Regions from separate parts of the Homo sapiens genome. Here region 1 is linked to region 2. The links are contacts of gene promoters, found by promoter capture Hi-C in blood cells and fetal thymus (Javierre and others, 2016). All regions are on one chromosome and are shown on one strand. The core of a region is centred on a gene start or on the middle of the fragment in contact, and the rest is flanking DNA. Distances in the headings are between cores, read along the strand shown. Region 1 has its middle 9.4 kb from the start of TMX1. Region 2 holds the start of ABHD12B (abhydrolase domain containing 12B).

The links. Contacts are between HindIII fragments. The CHiCAGO score rates a contact against its expected background, and 5 or more counts as called.
Region 1: a contact is called between a fragment that was not itself captured here and the fragment with the promoter of ABHD12B in region 2, in 1 of 17 cell types (M0 macrophages). The highest score is 6.0, in M0 macrophages.

The regions. Positions count from the first base shown.
Region 1 is chr14:51,228,671-51,232,981 of GRCh38, reverse strand. No RefSeq gene overlaps it. Among named protein-coding and RNA genes, the nearest start is that of TMX1, 9.4 kb to the left of the region's middle. The HindIII fragment of the contact is 4,378 bases long and covers 1-3,545 here.
Region 2 is chr14:50,868,995-50,873,504 of GRCh38, reverse strand. It overlaps ABHD12B (abhydrolase domain containing 12B), which reads right to left and starts at 1,452. Exons shown (of 13, transcript NM_001206673.2): 1 at 1,227-1,452. The coding sequence starts at 1,330. The HindIII fragment of the contact is 8,761 bases long and covers 1-1,541 here.

The DNA.
Region 1 (4,311 bases), core at 107-2,606, 360 kb before region 2:
TGTCACAGGTAGTTTCTGTTGCCTACTTTTTTCTCTGATCTATGGGTCATACTTTGCTATTTCGCTGCATGACAATTTTTTCATTGAAAACTGGACATTTTAGGTAATACATTATAGCAATTCTGAGTACTGATTCCCTCTATATGGTTTGGACTTGTCTTTTGTTTTTATTTGATTGTGGTTTGTTTAGTGACTTGGCTAGGCTATTTTGGTGAAGTCTATTTCTCCAGTAGCGGAAGGCCTCTGCTCCCATTTCTCAGAGAGTGCAGCCTTGGACATGTGCACCGTCACCAGGGGATATCAGTGGTTCTAGCAAGGCTCTCTTTGACTGTCTCTTTCCTTGATCTCTCTGTTAAACTTTCTGTCTCGTTTGGTGTTACCTCTAGCTGTTGTGCTACACTAAGTGTAGGATGATTTCTCTGTTTAAGAAGATACCCCCTGGGGCATAAATTGCTCCACAGTCTAATCCAATAAAATTCAGGCATTGGTAGTTTTTGAGGCCAGTCTTGGAGGTTTCCTCTAACCTCAAGAGGGCTCTTCTTAGTTGTCTCCTTCCCTGGTTCTCTCTGGTAAACTAGCTAGCTTATGGTTTAGCTTGTTGCTTTTTATTACAGGAAACTATTGTTTTTTTTAGAGCAACCCGAGGCTTGACCATCACCCACACTCTGTTTCAAATAAAGGTAAGTCCTCTGGGGAGAGCTTCAGGGCTCTCTGTTTTTATGGGCTGCGTCTACTCATGGGCAAAATTGCTTAGTTATTATTCTGGGCACTGGGTAGAACAGGAGGCTCTGATCTTCTTGACTTGCTTCTGAAGTGGAACCTCTGCCATATGAGCAAGCTGGGTTAAGGGTGATTGGAGTTCCCAGTGTTCTCACTCTGCTGCACCTGGCATAGAACTTTTGTCCCCTGTATGGGGCCACACTTACCAGGAATTTAGCCTTTGCAACTCAGAGTTGGAATGGATGAAAAATGCTGGTGGCCTTTTCCTCCTGGTGAGATATTGCCTCTCTTGATTGAGAGTTGAGGAGACAGGGAGCCCTATGTTCTTGGTCACACTCACCCAGAGTAGAGTTTTGACCAAGATGAGCTCAGGGGGTGAGGAAGATGGGTAGGAATCGAGTGTATGGCTCAGACGCCATAGACTGTTACTGTTCTTACTCAGTTTTAGTGGATTTTCTTGAAAAAAAAGAATGCTTCTTCATTTGCTGTATGCCCTTAGGACAATTTCCACAGACTTTAGATGGTTGTTTTTGTTTTTATAGTTTTCAACAGTATTATGGGATGAAGTTGTGTGCCCCCTCCAAATTCATGTGTTGAAGTCCTAACCTCTAGTAACTCATAGTGTAACTGTATTTTGAGATAGGGTCTGTAAAGAGTCAAGTAAGTTAAAATGAGGTCATTAGGGTGAGCCCTAATCCAGAATGACTGGTATCCTTGTAAGAAGAGGAAATTAGAAAACAGACTTGTACAGTACAGAGGGAAGACCATGTGAAGACACAAGGAGAAGATTGCCATCTACAAGCCAAAAAGAAACACCACAGAAGAAACCAACCCTGTCAAAATCTTGATTTCAAACTTCTAGCCTTCAGAACTATGAGAAAGCAAATTTCTGTTGTTTAAGCCACCCAGTTTTTGGTACTTTGTTATGGCAGCCCCAGCAAACTCATACAACCAATTATGCTTGTTTTGCTGGGATGGGTCTACACTGCCATCTGGAAGCCCAACCCAAGCCATCATCTTGTCTCATGTGGATTATTACAACATGCAAGGTTCTTAACTAGTCTCAATGCTTTTATACTTGCATCCTCCCAGCTCACCAAGTATATTTTCCTGTCTAAAACCAAAGTGGTATTCCTGAAACACAAGGCTGACCATGTCATCCCCTACTTAAAACTGTTTAATGGCTAGGTAACATGCTTTCTATTATCCTTAGCATAAAGTTCAACTTTCTTAATATAGTCTCCAAAATCATACTGTATCTGGCCTTTTCTAATGACCAAGCCTCAGTTTTTGACCTCTTTTGTACTGTCTGATAAAGTCATACTAGGTTTCTTACAGTACCTTGACCAAGCTATATTTTCTCTTCTAGGTTTTTGTGGAAGGTATACTGCTCCCCTCATTCCCCAACTGCCCTGCTTCATTGCCACATAACTATTCAATCTTCAGATTTTACCTATGTATCCCTTTCTTCAGAAAGTCTTTCCTAAGCCAATTAGTTTGGGTATGATGTCTTCCCTGGTACACTCTCTGAACCCTGAACTTCTAACTTCACATTTAGTATACTGTATTGTATTTGCCTACTTACTTGTGTCTCCCCCACAGGATTGTGACTCCAGATTATGAACTGTGTCTATCATGTTTATCATTGTTTCTTCAGTACCTATAGGTCATTGGTATTACCAGATTCTGCAGGCTAATTAAATCTATAGCCCAAAGAGTTAGAGACACCAAGATTACATAAAAACATAGAAGTTCTATGTGCTTAACTCAACAGACATCAATGTCTCTGTATGTATACACACACAGACACACAGACACATATATTAAGTCATATATACATACATATATAAAGTCAATGTAATGAAATTTTTCTGTATATTTATAACATAAACGTAAATGGAAAGTATAGATTTCTTTTACCTTTTAAGTTTTTAAAATTTAGAAGGTAACCGATACTTGGAACACTAGTCATCAAACAAAACATGACTATTAGCCTGATAAATCAGAACAGCACTTTTGGAAATAATTTGGCAATATATTTTAAGAATTAGAAATATGGTTCATACAGGCCAGGCACGGTGGCTCATGCCTGTAATCCCAGCACTTTGGGAGGCTGAGGCAGGCGAATCATTTGAGGTCAGGAGTTCAAGACCAGCCTGGCCAACATAGTGAAACCCCATCTCTACTAAAAATACAAAAATTAGCTGGGCGGTAGTGGTGTGTGCCTGTTATCCCAGCTACTCGGGAGGCTGAGGCAGGAGAATCACTTGAGCCTGGGAGGCAGAGGTTGCAGTGAGCCGAGATCGTGCCACTGCATTCCAATCTGGATGACAGAGTGAGACCCTGTCTCAAATTTAAAAAAAAAGTTCCTACATTCTGGAACCCTACTCTAGGTACTTCATCACATGGAATGAACTGAAAAGTGGGACCTTTTTCCAACATGTATGCGAAAAAATCTTCATGTATGTTTATAATTACAGATGAATAAGAGAAAAGATATTATCTCACAGATATTGTAGTAAACAGTATCACTGATATCCTGAAAGGGGAAAGCCTTTTGTATATCAGCTTGGAAAAGAAATCCTTTCATATATATAGTTAGTGGCAGCAAAAGACTATCGCTAAAACTAGAAACAAAACACAATTGGAGAAGTATGACGCCATGTGTCATCACAAAAGGACATGGCTCTTCAGACAATCTCACAGCTCCGTAGGCCAAGATTAGGATTATTGACTAGTCCTCTCCCATCTAGATGCAGAAAGACAAAAGTAAGGGTCATTTTGAATTTATGAGATTGGCTTTAAAATTTAACTTCAAAGAAGCTTTAAATATTTTATAATGTTCTTGTTCATGCATAAAATTTTTAAACATAACTAGAGAAAAATCTAGCTGTTGAAATGGATCTTATCATTTAAAACCCTGAATTAAAGTATATAAACAACATTTGGCCATCTGAAAGGTTACTAAATCACTGCTGTAATTATGTGGCAAGTTACAGGGATTTGGAGCTCAAGATTAGTTTAATATGTGTGATTGTAATTGTCAAAAAAGCAGGAAGAAAACTAAAGTTATAGACATCAGAATTAAATTATGAAGTCTGGTCAGTTTCAGGAGAACGAGCATTGTGTGCACATAGCATTAAAATCTCTGGCACAAGTAGCAGCTCTTCCCATGCAGATGGCCTGAGGCATAGAAGTGGATGATAAATGATGCAGAGCCAAGACAAGAAATGCTTGAACTGGACCAGGACAGGGATCATTATCTGAGCACATCTGGCCATGGATAGTACTGTTTCCCTGTCCATGATTATTAGCAGTTAATAAAGAACAACATTGCATATTAATTTATAGTTACATATATTAATTATAGATGTCTTAGAAATTCAATAAGTATAGAAAATGACCACTTAATCATTTAAAAAAAGGCAACAAGTCAATATGCTTTAGATTTTTAGTATTCCCATTGTATATAATATTTGGACCCAATAGTATAAGGGCCATCTGTTTTTACAAAAGCTTAATATATTAGTTATCTATTGCTGCCTCAAATTCTCTCAAGATTTAGTAAGTTAAAGCAATAGTAAACATTAT
Region 2 (4,510 bases), core at 203-2,702:
TGCAGTGGCTCACACCTGTAATCCCAACACTTTGGGGTGCCAAGGCAGGTGGAATCTGTGAGCTCCAGGAGTTTGAGACCAACCTGAACAATGTAGTGAAAACCCATATCTACACAAAATACAAAAATCAGCTCAGTGTGGTGGCAGGTGCCTGTAGTCCCAGCTACTGGGGAGGCTGAGACGGGAGGATCGCTGGAGCCCTGGGAATGAGCCAAGATTGTGCCACTGCACTCCAGCCTGGGCAACAGAGTGAAACCCTTGTCTCAAAAAAGAAAAAAAAAAGAGAGAGAGAGAGAGAAAAGATCCCCGTTTGTCATCATCACTCTGGGCACTCCAAAGTGAGGTCTCCTGTGTCTGGATGTAATTTTTGGATATTTTCTAATCAGCACAAATTAAACAAAAGGAATAGAAAGAGGGAAGTAAAAATGCCAATACCTTCCCACACCAACAAAACTAAATGAAATACCCACGTGTCCTGGGTCCACGATCTCCAACCAATACCTGGCTTCAGTGCAAACAAGACTGACAATATGTTGCAGGTGGATTCAGGTAATTTAAGATTACTGTTTAAACCGAGGATCCATGGGAGGAAGAAAACAGAAACAAAACCCGAAACACCCACTGATACATTTCAGACTTAAACAACATAAGAACTTGGCACAGGTAATGCCAAGTTATGGTTTCAACACACTATGTACATCTTTAGCATACTGGAGGTGTTTTCTTTAAATACATGCCAGGGAGTTCACACTCAGGGAACTAGGCACGGATTTTCTGATTCTTTTCCACCTACACAGATAGGCCCTTGACCTAAGAGGATCCCGTCCAAGATTACAACATATATTACTATTGTCACTATTACTAATGTCATTCAGATCCATCTTGTATGTTAGCAAAATGGTCAGATAATAGAGATTGGTGTAGGAATTCAACCATCTCCCTGGCATCTGTATTTCAGAAGCCCCCAAAAGTTATAACTTCCTGAAATACCAAACCTGAGAGTCTCGCTGGTCCAGGTTGGGATTGAGGCTGAGGATAGCAAGGGCAACCAAAGAGCCCTAGAGTTCTCAGGGGGCCGCCGAGGTCCCCCGGAAGCCACAATGCTGGGCCTTGGGCCCGGGCCAGCAGAGGGGATTGCGGCCTCGGCCGCGCCCTGGCCCCCTGCCCCATCCCCGCGCAGCCTGAGCCGTCGGGGCCCGGCCAGGGGTGGACCGGGCGGTACTCACCGCAGGTTGCGGTCGACCATGTCCCACCAGGCGGCCACGCAGCTACGGGCTGGGGGCCCGGGCGGCTCGGGCGATGCGGCCGCCTGGCAGTCCTGCGCGTCCATCCCGCGCCGTGTCCCGATACGCCGCCACCGCCGCGGGAGCTGCAGTCCGGAGCAGCCGCCCGCGACCTTCCCGCCCCGGCGGCACCGCGCCCGCCCTCCTCCTCCGCGCGGTCAGGCAGGCTGGTACGGCGGGGGAGACGCGGCCCGAGGGTGCGCTCCGCCCGGGTCAGGCTGTTCGCGGCCACACACACACACACAGATGTCCTAAGCTTATAGCTAGCTATGCTACATTTTATTTTAAATTGATTTCCATTATACTTCTGTGTGTGTGTGGGTGTGAGGCGCGCGCAACGCAGTAAAATATGTTTTCACCATGGTACTACTAACACAAAAGTTTGACCGCCACAGCTTTTGATTTTCATGAAGAATATAAGCTTTCCTCTACTTAAACCTCACTTTTTTCTTTTTCTCTTTTTCTGAAGCCTCCTTGTCTCCAATTCCCCATCCACCCCCAAAATCCTCACAGCCCCCCACCCTGTCACCCTTACTATAGAAAGAATTTCTTTGGCTCCCTTTGATTTACTAATGATTTGTCTGTCCACGTGGGGTTATGAACACAATTACTCCATGTAGCAAAAAATTAAGACCTTTTCGGTATTTTGTTTACGTAGCAGCATGTAGCAGAACCTCATCATTGTACCAAGGAGTTCACACCTTGAAACTTTGACCTTGGTACAGGTTTACATCTTGGTGCAGGTTTACATTGTGCAACTGTCTCCTAGGAGCAGGAACTGTCTACCAGAGCTACTCTAGGGAAGCCACGGCCTGCATGTGTGGGGACAAAGGAGGAAGAAAGGGAATTAGGTTTTATTTGGATACATTCGGATGCCAGCATCAAGGCTTCATCTTGGAGGCAAGGTGCAAATCTTAAGAGGTGAAATGGGTTTTTTGTAGTGTCTGTGTTCAGAGGGCACAGCAGGGGGCTGTCAGCACCAGAAAGTGCGTGGAAACCCATCTGCTTGAGGATAGTAAGATGGTCTGGGGGAAAATACCCACACTTTTCAAGAAAGGGAAGTTTTCTTTGAGTACTAGCTCATTTCATGGAACTGTCAGGGCAAAGGGGGATTTTGTTCACTGCCTGTTAATACTCTTATACTTGCTCTGGGAATGTTTGTTTTCTTTGTTTCTTTCTCTTTCCTTCCTTCCTTTCTTTCTTTCTTTCTTTCTTTCTTTCTTTCTTTCTTTCTTTCTCTTTCTTTCTTTCTTTCTTTCTTTCTTTCTTTCTTTCTTTCTTTCTTTCTTTCTTTCTTTCTTTCTTTCTTTCTTGTCATGGTCTTACCCTGTCACTGAGGCTGGAGTGCAGTGGTGCAATCATAGCTCACTGTACTTGAACTCACTTGAACTCCTGGACTCAAGCAATCCTTCCACTCCAGCCTCCCAAGTAGCTGGGACTACAAGCATGCACCACTATGCCTGGTGCGCGCGCGCACGCACGCTTGTGTGTATAGAGATGAGATCTCACTATGTTGCCCAGGCTGCTATCAAACTCCTGGCCTCAAGCAATTCTCCCACTTCGGCCTCCCAAAGTGCTGGGATTACAGGTCTCTGTCACCACACCTGGCTGGAATGTTCAGTTTCTGATTCACACACATCAAGATAGAAGAGGAATTAGCTCAGAAAGGACCAATGGGATCCAAGCCTGACTGATGAGCCAGCAGCAGGTGGGTTTTCACAGAGCCACAACCTGCATGATGAGAAAGCTTCAAGCAGATGTCGGCTCTACCCTTGGAGTTCTTCATAAACGTGGTCTGGAATCTCCCAGAACTTGTTCAGGGAAGCTCTGGATGGGACTCTGGGGCCATGCCAAGTGGAGATGGAGGGATCAAAGATGGGGAGGAGAGCTTGGAGGAGAGAAGAACAGCTGCATATGGTCCCAGAGTCTATTTCCATCTACTTGCTCAGGTTGAGAGAGGATATTTCCATCTACTTGCTGGATGAACAAAGTTGTAAGCCCCAAGTCTAGGGATATGTTTGAAATGCTCAGCAAAAATCTCTGAAATTGGAAATCACTATGGCCCATTTTTTGAAAGGTTGCATAAGACTCTGCAAGAAGGTCTTTCCCAGTATAAATAGCCCCTTTCAAATGGCACATCCTGGAAATCAGGGAACAAAGTCTCCCATATGATTTGATAGAACCTGAAAAACAAAATATGCATTCATTTATTCAGCACCCATTTACTGAGCACCTTTTAGGTACCAGGTACCACATTGGGCACCGTAGGGATACAAATCAGGATCCCAGCTGGTAGAGATTCATTTCAGGATGAACCATGAGAACACAGAACAGGAAATGAAAAGTGTCTTAAGGGTAGAGATTAAATCAGGGGATAGCAGGGGCTGGAGGTGGGGAGGGGAGGTTGACTACAAAGGGGTGCGAAGGGACATTTTAGAGTGATGGGAATAGTCAACATCTCAAGTGTGGTGGTGGTTACTATAAATATCCACCAATGCATATAACTCACAGGTGAATTTGACTGAATATGAATTATACCTCAACAAACCTGACTTTTGAAAAGTGACCTAAGAAATGTACAGATAAACTATATAAATGAACATGTCCTATGTCATGTTGTATAAATGTTAAGACAAAGCTGATGGTACAAATACATCAGAAACCAACAGTTGAATGTTATTTGCACTAGCAGAAAAATAAATCTTGATTGGAGACAGATTAATTTGACCACCTAAAATTATTCTGGAAAAACAGGGAATGGGGAATAAGACTGACCACCTCTCAGCTGCTGTACAGCTGTGAAGGTAAACTGCTGGTAATAAGGCAGTTGGGTGTTGAAGACCTAGATATCTTGAAAAGAAAGTATGCATCCCCCTTGTGTTTTCTTTTATTTTAAATAAAGCATTATGAGACATAAAATTCACACACTATAAATTCACTATTTTAAAGTATACAACTCAGTAATTTTAGTATATTCTCAGAGTTGTGCATCTATCACTATTATTTACAATAACTTTAGAACATTTTTATCACAGCCCCCCAGAGAAATCCTATACCCATTAGCACTCACCATTCCTCCCTTCACCTGCCCTAAGCAATCACTAATCTACTTTCTGGCTCTGTGCATTTGCCTATTCTGGACATTTCATATAAATGAATTAAACAATATGTTGCATTTTGTGTCTGGCTTCTTTAACTCAGTATAGTGTTTTCAAGGTTCATCCATG